Linked DNA regions of Homo sapiens: all the other regions are linked to region 1. Evidence: promoter capture Hi-C in 16 types of primary human blood cells and fetal thymus (Javierre and others, 2016). All regions are on one chromosome and are shown on one strand. The core of a region is centred on a gene start or on the middle of the fragment in contact, and the rest is flanking DNA. Distances in the headings are between cores, read along the strand shown. Region 1 holds the start of RSKR (ribosomal protein S6 kinase related). Region 2 overlaps FOXN1 (forkhead box N1). Region 3 overlaps SUPT6H (SPT6 homolog, histone chaperone and transcription elongation factor). Region 4 overlaps UNC119 (unc-119 lipid binding chaperone). Region 5 overlaps SLC13A2 (solute carrier family 13 member 2).

Region 1 (2,895 bases), core at 182-2,681:
GATCCTCTTTTCAGGAGCCTTTCATTTTAGAATCCATGAATAAATATCCTTGGGAAGGGGCAGGTGCATGAAGTGAGTGGCTTCTATGCCTACCCTCTCCATGACCTCACTCAGATTATTAAATTCAGTGTTTACTGAGTGTTTCGTATAGCACCATTGATTTTAGGGAACTGAGAGCTAACACAACCTAAAGTTTAGAAGGGGTTATAATTAGACTGTAAGCTTCTTGAAAGCAGAGACCATTGTATGTGAATTGCCCCATTGTGCCTTGGATGTGTTTAATAAATCTTTATTGTCTTGGTTCATTTTGATTTATTCTGCCTGCCCACTAATATTTACATTTTCTTTTACTCCTCTCCAATCTGCCAGGTAATCAAAGAGAAGCTAAGGCTGAAGTCTGCAACAGGCTCTGAGGTCCGGGGAAAGCTAGAAACTAAATCGGACCTGAACATGCAACAGCAGGAAGAGGAGGAGAAAGCCCGGCTCCTCATTGGTTTAAGTGTGGGCGACAAGAACCCTGGCAAGAAGTCCATCTTTGGCAGGCGCAAATGATTTGGCGATTCGAGTGGCTGCAGTACAGGATCTGACTCTGGCTCAGGCTCCAGGGACTTGTGGGGTGGGAGGGGCTTCCCGTTATCCACGAGGATTTGTGGGTGTCAGAGCCCATAGGCATCACTCTTCAGCACCTGGTCTGTTCGCTGCAGGGCATGGTGGACAGTAATGCTGAGTTCTGTCTCACACTGATCAGGCTCAGGGCCAGAGAGGCAACAAGAGAGCAAGACCCAGGGAATGGGCCCAGGGCAGGACCCTATTCCCTTGGGGTCAAGTGAAAGGGTAGGGGGATAGTCCTGATCAAGTGTGATAAATTTTTATAGACATATATAAATATATATATATTATATATATATTTCTAAGTGTAACTGTCCTTCCTCTGTGCCAGGAAACGGGAGGGGGCTGATCCTCTGATCCTCACTCCACTGTCATGTTTGAAAGAGGTATTGGTGTTCTGGAGTGGGGGTCAACCCCTCCCCAGTCTCTGTGCTAAGTTCACTTGGGAGGATGGCAGTAGGAGCCAGGGCTGGCCATGGGTCCCCTACCCTTCCCCGTAGGATATACCCTGGAGAATGGCAAAATGATTTAAAGAGAAAAAAAAAGATATTTTAAATTTGATGCTCATTTTTGTGTGTGTGTGTTGAGTGCATGCATTCAATCTGTGTATTCCTCCCTCATCAACCCAGAACATCCTGCAGCTGCCACTCTGAGGGTGGCCCCTTCCTTCCTCTGCCCTGAAGCTGTATCACAGAAATTTCTAGTCCTAGTGTGACTCTGGCCCCATGCTGATGGGTTTCTGCAGACTGGAAGAGGCGGGGCTCGTGTCACGCAGCATCAGGGAGAGGAATTGCTTATATAACTGGGACAGCAGATTTAGCAGAGAGAGGAGGCAGAGGCTGGGAATGGGAGCAGTAAGCTGTCGGCAGGGGCAGCACACCCAGCAGGGGGAACACACCCGGGTGGCTGTCCCTCACAAGGTAGGCTGTGGGGCTCTGGCAGCCTACTGAGGGGAGGAGAGGGAGACATGGGCTTGAGTCCTGGGAAGTTCCTGGTTAGGAGCATGGAAGTGATTACCCAATGTGGGGGTGGGGCAGGGAGGCTGTACTATGAAAGCATCACAGCCCAATACTGAGGTGCAGGCTGTACTCTTAATGCGTCATGGTGAAAATGTCCAACAATTATTTTCCTAGAGGATTTGAATTGTGCCCAGGAAATCTGGGGCTTAGCACAAAGCAAGGGTAATGGGAATTTTGCCTCATGCTCAAAAATGTACCTCTAGGGGTTGAGACTTAAGGGGAGGGAGTGCCTAGTAAGATGGGTGGAACCTGCTATGCCTCAGGAGCAGAAAGTTTAGAGTGGCTCCCTTGGTTCTCAGCAGGGTGGCAACATCCGGGGTCCCTGGGCCCGAGGCTGGAAGAGCCTCTGGACAGGTTTGGGAACCATCAGGTCAGATCTGGAAGAACTCTGGGAACTACGGGGGCACCACTATCTGCACCAGGAATCCCTAAAGCCAGCCCCAGTACTGGTAGAGAAGCCTCTGCCAGAGTGGCCAGTGCCTCAGTTCATCAACCTCTTTCTACCAGAGTTTCCCATTAGGCCCATTAGGGGGCAGCAGCAGCTGAAGGTAAGTCAGTGGAATCCCTGAGTGGGGTCTCAGTCTTTGGGAGAAGTTAAAAATGACCAGTCTCAACTGGCCTGTTCTCCATTCCTCTGTACAGATTTTAGGCCTCGTGGCTAAAGGCTCCTTTGGAACTGTCCTCAAGGTGCTAGATTGCACCCAGAAAGCTGTATTTGCAGTGAAGGTAGGGGCGTAGATACCACATTAGTCTCTGTTTCCAATCTTGATTCCAGAGAGGTTGGGAGGAATAAACAATTCAATAGCACTATCTATGAGTCATCACTACTCTCCTTTTATAGGTGGTGCCCAAGGTAAAGGTCCTACAGAGGGATACCGTGAGGCAGTGCAAAGAGGAGGTTAGCATCCAGGTATGCACAGAGTCCTGGAAAGGATTGTGGGAAGAGCTAGGCCACAGGTAGGGAAAGTACCTTTCTTGCCCACCTTCTTTTCCTGGTTCTGCCTCATCCATCTGCTTCAGCCTAGTTTAACACTAAAGTAGATCCTGGGAAAAGTATCAGCTCTCAACACAGTTTTCCCATGTCCTACTAGGGAAATCTCTGAAGCATGTCCCAGTGTATTCCTTAGTATTTGCTGGTTCTAGGATTACCAGATAGTCAGTTCCAAATATTGAGTTCCTCTGAACTGAGAGGTGAGGCAGCAGTTCCCCCTCTGCACATCTGGGTAAAACCTGATTTCTCAGCTGCCTTTATTCTCAATGACCCTGT
Region 2 (3,129 bases), core at 3-2,502, 100 kb after region 1:
GCCTGCTTGATCCTTCCAGGGGGCAGTGTTCAGAAAGCAGTGATCTGAGGCCTTAGACATTGGTTTCTAGAGAAGAAAGTTCCCTGAAATCCTCAGTCTGCCCAGCTGTGATAAGGGCCAAAGAATGGCTGATGAGGTGGGGCATGAGTGAAGGACCAGGAGGCTTTTGCACAGATTGTGAAGCCTTGCCTTCATCCCTCCTCAACAAGCTTCCTCCAGCTACACTGGCTGAAGGGGATGGAGAAATGGGCTGGGGTATGGGATGAAGTGGCTGACCTCTAAGCACTCATTAGCTCTGGGTCCCTGTGGCCCGGAAGTCCTACCCCTGTAATGAAGTCACCCAGGGCTGAGCCCGATGGTCCCACCCCCAGCCTCCTGTGGGCTGTGTAGGTAATTGGCTTTGGAGTTGTTGGGCTGTGGCAGTGATTGGCAGCAGAGGATTTGATCTGTGAGACCAACAGGGATGTTGGAGCTTGGTCTCACCTCCCCCGTAACCTGGCGTTATAATCTCTGGACGCCTTCACTGAGCCCAGATCCTGGCTTCCCTACAGAATCCCCCTTTTCCCTCACAGTGAGTCCTCCCGACCAAGGACTGCAGGAGGGTCCTTTCCCAGCTCTGCTCTCGGTGTGGGCTAGTCATGAGAATAAACCTTGTTCCCTCCTTTATAAAATGGAGTCCTCATCTTTGCCCTACATACCTCATCTGGCTGTCCTGGGGACCGAGTGAGAACCAGAATGTCAAAATCCTCAGAAGTTAAACCAGCACCAGCTTGTCTGGTGCCCCTGCCTCCTCCCCTGGGGTCCCAGGCCTGTAGGATTTCAGGAGTGGGATGGGGCTGAGTGAGATCTTTTTACCTTCAAACATCTGCCCTTCCTAGGGGTGTGCCCCAGGGGGATGGTCAAGAGGGCCCTCGTCCTGCTGGTGCGCTCGCTCTTTGCCTGTCCACCTGAGTGGGGGCAAAGAAATGGCCCAGGATCCCACTGTCCGTTGGGCCAGGGGCCTCTCACATTCTGTACATATCATTATCAGAACTGCTCATTAATACCAATCTATTATTAAGGATATTAATTCTGCCACCACTACTAATAATACAGATTTAGTACAAGGCAAATACATACTGGTGCACCTCCTCTCCCAATGCCATCTTGCACAGGGGATGGGCAGGTGGTTATCTCCTTGAACTTACTAAGCCTTGAAGTGAGAAGTGCACTGGGAGGCCCTCCCACCCAAGCCCCTCTTTATCTGACAGATGGGGAAACCGAGGTCCCACCAGTGGGAGAGATTGTTCCCTGCTATGCAGGCATCTGTGCGCTGCTCCTTCCTCCAGGTGCTGGGGCTATGGGAAGCAGCTCTCAGCACCTAATCATGTCCCTGGAGAAGGGGCAGGCTCTGGGGGCATTTTCCTGAGCCCATCCAGCTCCTTGGCTCCAGCTGCCATCTTTCTCCCTTGACCACCCTCAGATCATACTGGATTTGGCATTGCCACCCCAAATAATTTTTTCTCCAAAACCCTTCCCACTTTAGGCAGATTGACCACGCTTGCGGGAAGGCACAGAGAAGCAGAGCCACCTCTATGAAGCCACATGCTCTTGGTGCCCAACGTGGGCTCCAGGAACCCTCTCCAGAGGAAGCTGGGGACACTGCCCCCACTGACAGTGAAGACTGCTGTGGTCACTCTGGGCCTGCGTGGAGGAGGGGTGCTAAGTGCAGAGTCTGATAATTGGGTTTTCTGATCACAGCGATGTGTGTGTGTGTGTGTGTGTGTGTGTGTGTGTGCGTGTGTGTGCGTGTGTGTGTGTGTCCTTCCTCATGTACATTCTATGCCTTCCGAGACTGATGGGCTGGTGCAGTCCGGGACATGGCTATGGAATTTACAAGTGTAAGTGGGACCTCCAACTGTCTCCAGGCAATCTGGTTCCAGGGATGCACCCCATTCTCATTCTGTGTGTGTGCGTGCGCGTGTGTCTGTGTGTGTCTCTGTGTGTGTCTCTCTGTATGTATATATGTATGCGTGTGTGCATGTATGTATCTCTGTGCATGTGTCTGGGTGTGTGTCTCTGTGTGTGTGTGTCTCTGTGTGTATGTGTGTCTCTGTGCTGTAGTTTGTCAGAGGCAGTGGGGGGAGCCCTGAAGGCCCCGGAGGGTGTATGAGGGCAGGATTTGGAGCTGACTGACAGTGCATCCTCCTGTGAGCATGGGGTGGAGGGCGAGGGTCAGACCTTGCAGTGGGCTTTCTGTTGCATTCTGGAAGGGGATGGGAGGATCTGGAGGGTTGCCTACCCCTGGAAGCTTCTAGAGTAGCTGTGAGAGCACAGGTTCCCTTTTCTCCATGACTCACAGCTGGCTCTCCAGTCAAGTTCCCCAAGAGATCACGATTCAGCGAATTCTCTCCCTGGCCCCATTAATCTGAGCTGACTAAGCAAGGGCCACAGGCAGGGTAGAGACCCGGGGATGCGCACTCCTAATCAACCCTAAAAATCCCTGCTCCTGCTTCCATGCCCCCTCTTCCTTGGCCCGCCATGCCTGATAGGATCAGTTACGCTCCCAGCCCCCTGAGAAAGCCTGCCCCGGCCCCGCTTTGGGGCTCTATGAGGGTGTCTCTCCATCCCCGCTTCACTGCCACATGCCCGCAGTGTGGAGGTCTGTCTGGGCGCCAGCCCTCCACTTGTCTTGTTGCATCTGAACTCATTTTTACTGTTTGGTGAGCATCCAGCCTTTACGGCCCAGATAGGATGAGGAAGCTAAGGGCTGCTCCAGGGATGATCTTGTCCTGCTCGTTTTGTCTATTGGCATGGCTCTGGGCTTTTCCTCAATGCTCAGACAACCTGGGGGACACCCCAGAACCTGGCGGGGATGCTGGTGAGGGGTGTTAGACTCCAAGGGAACCTGTGACATAGGAGGAGATCCATCCTGAGGAATGGAGCAGGAGGTGGAGATGGGGATAGGAGTGTGGTTGGAGGTGGGAGTGAGGAGATGAGGTAAGGAGGAAGGAGCAGGATGGGGTGGTGGTGATGGAGGCAAGTTTGGGGACGGGGATGAGTAGGAAGGGGGCTGGGCGGGATTGAAGGTGGGAATGGAGATAGGTTATGATGGGGAAAGAGACAGAGACGGGTGGAAGGGTCAGGGAT
Region 3 (2,842 bases), core at 76-2,575, 90 kb before region 1:
GGTCTCCTGTGTATCAGACATGGAACCAGACACTTTGCTGGGACATGGGGTTACTCTGCGGCCAAGTTACTACTACTGAAGCAGAAACACTTCTTGGGGTGGACAGCTGGTGGTGGCAGGTGAATTTGGTGAGGTTTTAGCTTGAGCTGTGGGAAGACCCAGAGGTCTGCGGCTGCTACTGATGACCCAGACTCCTGCCCCCTCAGGTGACTGCAAGGAGCCTGACAAGTGCTGCTGGAGACACAAGCAGTGCACTGGGCACATCATCTACCCTTTCGCCTCTGACTGTGTCCGCCACAGCCTGCACCTACACTCTGTCAACCACTGCAACTGTAATTCTAGGTGAGGGCCCGCCCCCTTGGGGGACCCATGGCAGAGCCAGGTCCGAACTTTCATTGTGGTCTCCCCTTCAACCTTTGGTTTGCCTCTTCAGCTTTGAATTGGTGCTGCCAGCCCAGTCCCAGCTCTGCACACCTTGCTCTGCTCTAAGAGAAATGGGGAGGAGGTCTGTTGGCCTGAGGCAGGCCCAGCGGAAGCCCACTGTCCCTCAGGCTTCTGGCTCTGGGTCCCTGGGGGAGTGATGGGAGCCAGGCTGAGAGTCCCATGTGTGGCAGGCTGAAGGACTCTTCAGAGGATAGCAGCAGCTCCCGGGGCGCGGGCCCAACCTGCTCCCATGTCATCGAGTCCCCTTGCTTTGAGCTCACACCGGAGGAGGAGCATGTGGAGCGATTCCGGTATGGCTGGTGAGTGAGCCCCGGTGGGCTGATGGGGAAGGGGCCTCTACAGGGCACTGCCCCCCACTCTCTGTCAAACTTCCCCCGTTGTCCCTTCTCCCAGGTGCAAAAGCTACAGACCTGTCTCTGTGGCAGTGATCCACCATCCACTCTACCATGAGTGTGGGGCAGATGATCTAAATGAAGAAGAGGAAGAGGAGGAGGAGGAAAGCAAGCCCCCCATCCCGACACAGGTGGGGCCCGCCACCGCCTCCCCTGACCTAGGCACCAGCATGGCCACTGGTACCCCTGACTCCACAGCGCCCATCACCATCTGGCGCTCTGAGAGCCCCACAGGGAAGGGTCAGGGCAGCAAGGTGATCAAGAAGGTAAAGAAGAAAAAGGAAAAAGAGAAAGACAAGGAGGAGATGGATGAGAAGGCAAAGCTGAAGAAAAAAGCCAAGAAAGGCCAGTTGACTAAGAAGAAAAGCCCGGTTAAATTGGAGCCTTCCCCGCCAGACGTGAGCCGATCATTAAGCGCAAGACAGCTGGCCAGGATGTCCGAGTCCAGCCCAGAAAGCCGGGAAGAGCTGGAGAGCGAGGACAGTTACAATGGCCGGGGGCAGGGAGAACTGTCCAGCGAGGATATTGTGGAATCATCATCGCCCAGGAAGAGAGAGAACACAGTCCAGGCCAAAAAGACAGGGGCAAAGCCCTCACAAGCCAGGAAGGTAAACAAGAGAAAATCTCCCCCAGGATCAAACCCCAACCTCAGTTGAGGCCAGGGTGGTCAGGGTGCAGAATAAATGCCATCGAGCCTGTGGCTGGCCCTCTGCTGCTGTTCTCTCCCTCCAACCTGGCTGTTTCTTGCGGGGCAAGGGGTGGGCTCAGGGCTGCAGGGGTTTCTCAAAGGCAATCCAGCTTTCACAAAGGAAGCCCATGGGAAGGCAGGTGGGAGGGAAAGGAAGGGGCACAGCCCTATTTCTTCCTACCTGCTAGGACAAGGTGGAAGAGTGTATCTGGGGTGGGAAGGAGGGCTTCCCCTCTCTGCTGCGAGAGACTGGTCTGTGTGAAATCCACTTCTGGGACAGGCAGTACTGTCTGCAGCGATACCCCCAATAAACGGAACTTTTTAACCCACTCTGTGCCACTGTGCCTGGCCTTTCCCTCCTCTAAGTGGCTCTGCAGAAGGTGCTCGTGGTACTACCAGAGACTGACCTTCCCAGCTGGTGGTCTAGCTCCTCCCTTGTAGCCCTTTTGTGCTGAAGGGAGCTGACTTGAGTTCCTGGCAGAGCTGGCCCCTTCCCCCAGATCTTGATGAAGAAAAACAAGGGGAGGGAGTGTGCCACGTCTGGGCAGCAGTGGCCTTTTCTGACTTCTCTGCTGAGCCCCAAGCAAAGGAAAGGGAGCCAGAGGCCCCACTCTCCCAGCATTGACTCACAGAGCTGTGAGACGAAGCCCTTGTGCAGAAACAGGGATGGCAGGAGTTCAGAACAAAAAATGCAGTGGGGCAGGGACAAAGGGCCAGGGCCAGTGTGTTGGAGGGGAGCAGGTGAGCAGGGCCCCATCCTGGGGCAGGAACACCTTACTGCTGAGAGCTTGCAAGAGACCAAGGCCCAGCTGGGAAAAGGGAAGAGATGAACGGCAGAGGCTCAAGTTGAGAAATCCAGATTTACTTGTGGCCTTTCTCCAGGGTGCCAGAGAAGACCAGCAGGCATGGGCGGATGGGGCAGCTGTGCTGTGGGTGAGTGAGTGGGTGTAATAATACCGGGTAACATTTGCGACGTACCAGGCGTTGGGCCAAGGAGCTTGCACACGCTGCCTTGGTCCTCACAGCAGCTGATGAGGCAGGTATCACTATCTCCATGTTACAGGTAAGAAAGCCAGCTGAAAGGCAGCAGGAACTGGCACAGGGTCACCCGGCTGGGAAGTAGAGCAGGGATGTGCCCCAGGCAGTCTGATGTAGAAGCTGCCTCTAGTCTATGAATCTTTGCCTCTGATGGATCAGAAGAGGGAGTCAGGGGAGTCCTTGGAGCTCCAAACACTGCTTTGAAAGCCACCCCTCAAAGAGCTGGAGAGTTGGAGAGAGAGGCTTTGGCAAGAGCTCAATAGAAACACTGTTTATTCAA
Region 4 (3,188 bases), core at 655-3,154, 66 kb after region 1:
AGAAGGAGTGGCCGTGGTGTTCTGAGCCATAGATATCCGTGTTCCTCACTTCTTCTAAGGACAGAGAGGTTGATAGATTGAGTTTGCAGTAGAAGAGACTGAGGTTAGACTGCAGGAAGTTGTTCCCAAATGAGAGAGGCTCCAAAAGTTGGAGAATGGGAGAAGAGAAGGCCTTACAGGGATCTGGGAGTTGGGCACTGGGATCCTGCTCCCCACTCTGCCACCTCCGTTCCCTATGCTCTGTACCTTCTTTCTATGTCTTTATACTGGTGCTTACTTTCTGTGAAAATAGGGTGAATGGGGTGAGATAGGGGTTGCCCACTTCCATTCTCTCCCCACCCCACATGTGGGCTGTAGTAGACTCAGGGCCCTGCCTCTTCCCCAAGCTGTATAAAGTCCATGCTGGGCCCCAGGGTACCAGATGGCTGCCAGGAGGGCTTCCTGGAGGGGACAGCGTCAGGCTTGGGGAAGAAGCAGACCTGGGGAAGAGAAAATGACTTTATATTCACTTCCTGTTCCTGCCCCAGAGGAATAGGAGGTGGCCCAGGGGCCTGGAGGGTGATTTCCAGGCCTCTGTGGGCCACCAGGGGAGGATGTGATGCTGTGCAGGCTGACAGCACGAGTCCCTCCCTGCACCTCTCAGCTCTTTTTGTTGCCAGGGCCTCCCTGAGCACTTGAAGTTGCTGCTGCAAGAGCTGTGAGGGTTAGATCAGGCCCTGTAGCTCCCTGAGCTTCCTCAGGCAGGGCCTCCCACTGTTCTTGGTTCCCTTCCTGGGCCTGAGGACTCCCCTTACCCCTTCCACACCCACTGCTGCACCTGCCACACCCTCCTCCTGGCCTAGCCTGTGTTCTTCTCTATGGGGGTCCAGGACTACTTTCTCCATGGTGGTGGCTCATAGCCAGGGCTGCGTAAATGACCTCTAAGGGGGTTCTCTCTGCTTGCTAAGACTTCCTCCCATTTGGAGATCAACAAAGGATGAGAGCAAAGTTGGCCTCCTCCCACCTGCCATATCCCAGGCTCTGGGCTTGAGTCAGCAGAGCTTTGGTTAAGCTGCTTAAGGGAGCTGGGCTGGTGTAAGCTTCTTACTGAGAGGAGGGGGTTTGGAGGAGAGGAGGAATAGGGAAGGGGTTGTTCACCTGCCCCAGCCCCACCCATATCAGGGAAAGTCCCCTTAACATCAGCCTCACCTGATACATCTAGATGTCATGCCAGGGGCAGCTGTGGGGTGAGGGTAGGAGTATCCTCCAGAGAAGGACAGTGACTCTCCCAAGACAGAGCTGTGTGGCCCCCTTTACAGGTGGTTCTCAAAGGCAGGGTACCAGAGAAGTTGATACACTGAGTTGCAGTAGAAGAGACAGGTCAGACTGCAGGAAGTTGTTCCCATATGAGAAGAGAGGCTCCCACCAGGCTGGATACCTAATTCTCCCAAAGTCATCTAGCCAGCCTTGGCAGAGCGGAGGCCAGAATGAGGACCCTCAACTCCAGAGTGGGAGAGAGAGTGTTCAGGAGGTGGCCTTGTCCTCTACCCTTCTCTGCCCTGCCCTTCCCTGGCCCCCAGAGACCAGTAGGATGGCACTCCTTATCCCCTGTTAGATCCCCATGGCGGAGTTATGTCTCTTCCACACTGGGGGTGTACCCCAAGGGCAGGGACTGAGGTCCCTCTTTCCAGAGGGCAGTGATCCCAGGGATGAGAAGATGGTAGCTACTCTGGGGTCCCACACAAGCTGACCTGGCAGCAGGGGCTTTGCGGCCCCTTCCTTGCTCAGCTGCCTGTTTCCCCTAGACTACCTCTGCTCCCCTGAGGAGAATATCTACAAGATCGACTTTGTCAGGTTTAAGATTCGGGACATGGACTCAGGCACTGTCCTCTTTGAAATCAAGAAGCCCCCAGTCTCAGGTGAGTGGGCTGGGTGGGCCATTGATGGGGAGGCAGATAGGAGCTGCGGAGTGGGCTGCCCAGGGAATCCTTGGGCCACAGAGGAGTCCACAGAGCTGGGGCTTGGACCCCAGCATTCTCAGGAGTCTGCAGGCAGGGGGGCCCTTTCTTTTCCTTCCCATATGTTTCTGAGGCTGGACATCTTGCGAGGTCAGCCCTACCCCTTCGGTCCCTGCCAACCTGCCCTCTGCAGGGCTCTCTGGGAACTGCAGTCCTACGGGTCCCAGGCCTCAGCATCCTGTGGCCCGGGGAAGCACAGTGGCGATTGGGAACATGCAGACCTAGAACCCCTAGGTGGCACTATTTGGCCAATGGTCTGAGCCCTCAGTGTGCCCCGGAATTTCTTGGGGAGTTTAAAAAAAATCAGATAGATGGGGACCCAAGGGTAGAACCCTGGGTGGACAAGGGCCCAGCCTGAAGCCCACTGAGCCCCAGCTGGGGTACATTGCAGAACGGTTGCCCATCAACCGGCGGGACCTGGACCCCAATGCTGGGCGCTTTGTCCGCTACCAGTTCACGCCTGCCTTCCTCCGCCTGAGGCAGGTGGGAGCCACGTGAGTCGCTGGGCTATGGGTGGTGGTGGGGGTGAGGGAGAGGGTGTGAGTGGGCCCTTCTCAGCCTCTCGTAGGGGTGGCCTGTCCTGAGCCTGGCTGGCTAGTTGACTTCAAGGACAGACTTAGCCCTGCCTCCTTTTCTTGCTCAGGGTGGAGTTCACAGTGGGAGACAAGCCTGTCAACAACTTCCGCATGATCGAGAGGCACTACTTCCGCAACCAGCTACTCAAAAGCTTCGACTTCCACTTTGGCTTCTGCATCCCCAGCAGCAAGAACACCTGCGAGCACATTTACGACTTCCCCCCTCTCTCCGAGGAGCTGAGTGCGCGGGCAGGGTCTTCTGGGAGTGGGGAAGTGGGGGCGTCTAGAGACTGAGCTGCGGGAGGGAGAGGGACTTGTGGGTCTGATCCCATTTCTCCCCACCCTGGGGCTCTTCTGTGTCTGCCACCATTCCCATATCATCCGTAGAGAAAGAGGCTGGGGATATTTCAGGCTGTTTGGCTGTCCCTGTACCCCAGTCCTGAAGCCCCTGCAGTGGCGGGACTCAAGCTCCTGACCTTTGCCCGGCCTGGCTGGGCCTCTCTTGCAGTCAGCGAGATGATCCGCCACCCGTATGAGACCCAGTCTGACAGCTTCTACTTCGTGGATGACCGGCTGGTGATGCACAATAAAGCAGACTATTCCTACAGCGGGACAC
Region 5 (2,729 bases), core at 100-2,599, 120 kb after region 1:
CCAGGATCCCCATCAGGATACTCCAGGGGTGACATCATGAGGGACGGGGTGAGTCAGGGGCCAAAGCGCCTTGGGGCCCAAGGTGGCTCAAGAGCCTGGAGAAGGATGGAAACTCAGGGGTCCTCTTCAGGAAAAGGAAAAGAGGAGGTGCAAAGACAGGATACTCTGCCCAGCAGGCAGAACCCCTGGTGGGGCAGGCAGGCGGGCTGCCTGGAGGAGGTGTTTCTGAGGGCCAGCTCACCATGGAGGCTAGGATGGGCAGGAAGATCGTAGTGGTGGCCACGTTGCTAGTGCACTCGGTGAAGGTGGCCACCAGGAGGGAGAGGATGATGGCAATGGCTGGAGCTGGCACACTCTGCAGTGGGGTCAGCTTGTTTCCCAGCCACTCTGACAGGCCCGATCGCTGTGGGCAGAGGAGGATGGCATGTGAGAGGCAAGGCTGCCTGGGCCCCCAAGTCTTCTGCCGAGGCTCTATGAGGCTCCTGCTCCTGCTAACATCTCCCTGGTATTCAGAGTCAAAGACAGCTCTAAAGGGATGATAGGACCCAGCTAAGACCAAGGGGTGCCCTTTCCTGCTCTTGAAGAACAGCTGGGTGTGGGAAGAAGGGGCAGATGAGAAATTAGGAGGGGGCCAAAGGGCCTTCTTGGGAAATTTGGGGCTTGGTGGGAGCAAAAATCTTTGACCGCACTGACTCCTGCCTTCCTGACCTCTCTCAGGAGGTCCCTGGACAACCTTAGCCCTCTTCCTGCCCCTTCCAGTCCAGTGGCTTGGGGCAGAGGGAACCTTGCTCCTGGCAGGGAGGGAAAGTTGGGGGAGGACCCTGACAGAGGCTGCAAGAGGCTAATGGGAGGACAGGGACAGTCCACAGGGTCAGAAGAGCTCCGAGGTCTTGCCTTCCCACGTCTGGAATGCCAGGCTGTAAGGTGGGACTTAATCTCGCTCAGTGGGGCCAGCGCCTAGCACAGGACTGGGCACAGTCAGTGGATGAACATGCCACAGACCCAGGAGTCCCCTGCACCGATCCCTGACCTGGGCAGCCACCTTCTGTTTGAGCCAGAACACGGAGGCCCAGGGATGCCGTGTCAGGGATTTCCCTCTTTTGGATGGAGGCTCTGGGGAAAGATGTTCTGGTCCCCAGAGCCTGGGTGGGTGTGATCATGGTGCCCCCTGGTGGCTGCGGAGGGCAGACCGCGTCAACACAACCCCCAATTACTTTGGTGCTGATGCTACTGTGTGCTCTGGCAGCGGGCAAAGGGCTGGGGTGGGATGGCATTTGTCTCTGAGAACAGGCTCTGCCCACCAGAGAATCCTGCCTTCCCTTGGACTTTGAGAACTGAACAAAGAGGTCCCTAGGGCTTGTGTTTCTTCCTCCCACATGAGGGCTCTAACCTAAGTCTTCCCAGCTGCTGCAAAGGCTCTGCCTACCCGAGAGGCTCCTACGTGGGGACCAGGTCTCCCCTCTGTGGGACAGAAGCAGGGCCCCCTCTCTCCCTGCCACAGAGACACCCTCACACAGGCTGAGGAGGGGGCTGGGGGCCTCTCACCTCACTGCCCTTGGCCAGGGCATAGCCACCACCCAGCAATAACACGATATTCCACGGCATCTTCTGGTTCACCGTCTTCCAGTCGAGGAGGCCAAGAGGGGCCTTCAGCTTCCCTGGGTTTTCTACTTCCCAAGCAGAGAAGGATGGGTCACCAAAGAACAAACAGGCCTTTCCCCTCTCCATTTGCGGGCTCCCTGTGTGGGTCCCTTTTGGAGCTTAACGCGTGCAGGAGGGGACCCTCAGTTCTGCAACATCTCAACTTTGTCTCCGAGTCCCTGTGCCCTTGGCAAGTCGCTCCAGCCTTTCTGGGCTTTGCCTACTCCTGCCAAGTGTGGTGGAAGGTACATTACATACTTGAAGGCAGGGGCTGCCCGGAGACCCTTCCCTGCCCCAGTCCAGGTGCTTACCTGGGTCCTGGGTCAGCCCTGGGAACTTGGAGGGTATGATGAACATAATTATGCCGATGAAGATGGCCACTGTCCCATCGGACACCATGCTGTTGGTGGAGGGGGCGCGGGGAGGGCTGGGTTAGCCGCTTGGGGTTGCTCAGGGCCACAGGGTGGAGGGTGGTGGAGATGAGCCTCTCCCATAGACAAGCCTGGGGAACCTTCATCCCCCACCAAGTGTTACCTCCTGTTCTGCAATGGGGGCCCTATACCCTTCCCTCCTTCCCGAGCATGTGAGCCCCAGATGTGTCCTCCTCCCAACCCCTGCAACTCTCACCTCTCCCCCTTGGCATTGGGAAAAGCCAAATTGCCCCAGCCAAGAAAAAAGCCCGGCTCCCGGGTGAACCAGAGCAGCACCAGGATGACGAATAGGATGCTGATGGCCTTTTCTGCAAAGGTCATGGGGCCCAGCAGCCTGTGCTCGGTCTGGATGACGCAGTAGGCTGCCTGCTGTTGCTCCTGCATCTTTTCCCCAATGCCAAAGTTCTTCCGGAAGCTGCAGGCAGAGGGACGGGGCAGCTCGTGGGGGGCCTGCTCCAGCAGGGAGCAAGGGGCTCTGAGTGCCTACCATCTAAAGGCTGAGGCCCACAGAGGGCATCTCAGGGTCACTACACTCAGGCCCCAGCTCCGCCTGAGGTTCTGGAGGAGGAGCAGAAGACTTTTAGAGGCCATAGTTCTTGCTTATTCTCCATGCTTGGCCCTGCCCCATTGAGCCCCTTTTCCTCCAGGGGTTCTATG

Evidence for each region. The method cuts DNA at HindIII sites, captures the fragments that hold promoters and counts their contacts. A CHiCAGO score of 5 or more calls a contact.
Region 2: a contact is called between a fragment that was not itself captured here and the fragment with the promoter of RSKR in region 1, in 1 of 17 cell types (naive B cells). The highest score is 6.7, in naive B cells.
Region 3: a contact is called between a fragment that was not itself captured here and the fragment with the promoter of RSKR in region 1, in 2 of 17 cell types (M1 macrophages and endothelial precursors). The highest score is 6.7, in M1 macrophages.
Region 4: a contact is called between a fragment that was not itself captured here and the fragment with the promoter of RSKR in region 1, in 3 of 17 cell types (megakaryocytes, total B cells and naive B cells). The highest score is 6.0, in megakaryocytes.
Region 5: a contact is called between a fragment that was not itself captured here and the fragment with the promoter of RSKR in region 1, in 14 of 17 cell types (naive B cells, total B cells, naive CD4 T cells and 11 more). The highest score is 18.0, in naive B cells.

What each region holds. Positions count from the first base shown.
Region 1 is chr17:28,612,721-28,615,615 of GRCh38, reverse strand. RSKR (ribosomal protein S6 kinase related) reads left to right here and starts at 1,431. Exons shown (of 12, transcript NM_001174103.2): 1 at 1,431-1,529; 2 at 1,928-2,176; 3 at 2,271-2,354; 4 at 2,470-2,538. The coding sequence starts at 1,455. BLTP2 (bridge-like lipid transfer protein family member 2) reads left to right here. Exons shown (of 39, transcript NM_014680.5): 39 at 370-1,170. The coding sequence ends at 552. All of the region lies in intron 2 of SPAG5-AS1 (SPAG5 antisense RNA 1), which reads right to left. The HindIII fragment of the contact is 13,614 bases long and covers 225-2,895 here.
Region 2 is chr17:28,509,229-28,512,357 of GRCh38, reverse strand. All of the region lies in intron 1 of FOXN1 (forkhead box N1), which reads right to left. Among named protein-coding and RNA genes, the nearest start is that of FOXN1, 4.4 kb to the right of the region's middle. The HindIII fragment of the contact is 2,081 bases long and covers 212-2,292 here.
Region 3 is chr17:28,702,208-28,705,049 of GRCh38, reverse strand. It overlaps SUPT6H (SPT6 homolog, histone chaperone and transcription elongation factor), which reads right to left. Exons shown (of 37, transcript NM_003170.5): 37 at 2,371-2,842. PROCA1 (protein interacting with cyclin A1) reads left to right here. Exons shown (of 5, transcript NM_001366301.1): 3 at 207-342; 4 at 615-743; 5 at 838-1,853. The coding sequence ends at 1,492. Among named protein-coding and RNA genes, the nearest start is that of PROCA1, 8.3 kb to the left of the region's middle. The HindIII fragment of the contact is 5,760 bases long and covers 1-2,842 here.
Region 4 is chr17:28,547,302-28,550,489 of GRCh38, reverse strand. It overlaps UNC119 (unc-119 lipid binding chaperone), which reads left to right. Exons shown (of 5, transcript NM_005148.4): 2 at 1,785-1,898; 3 at 2,389-2,491; 4 at 2,641-2,813; 5 at 3,081-3,188. Among named protein-coding and RNA genes, the nearest start is that of UNC119, 3.7 kb to the left of the region's middle. RefSeq lists a silencer at 300-349 and enhancers at 1,882-2,718, 2,702-2,751, 2,772-2,881, 2,719-3,188. The HindIII fragment of the contact is 1,645 bases long and covers 1,082-2,726 here.
Region 5 is chr17:28,493,329-28,496,057 of GRCh38, reverse strand. It overlaps SLC13A2 (solute carrier family 13 member 2), which reads right to left. Exons shown (of 12, transcript NM_003984.4): 7 at 2,269-2,487; 8 at 1,953-2,041; 9 at 1,546-1,667; 10 at 242-403. Among named protein-coding and RNA genes, the nearest start is that of FOXN1, 12 kb to the left of the region's middle. The HindIII fragment of the contact is 7,617 bases long and covers 1-2,729 here.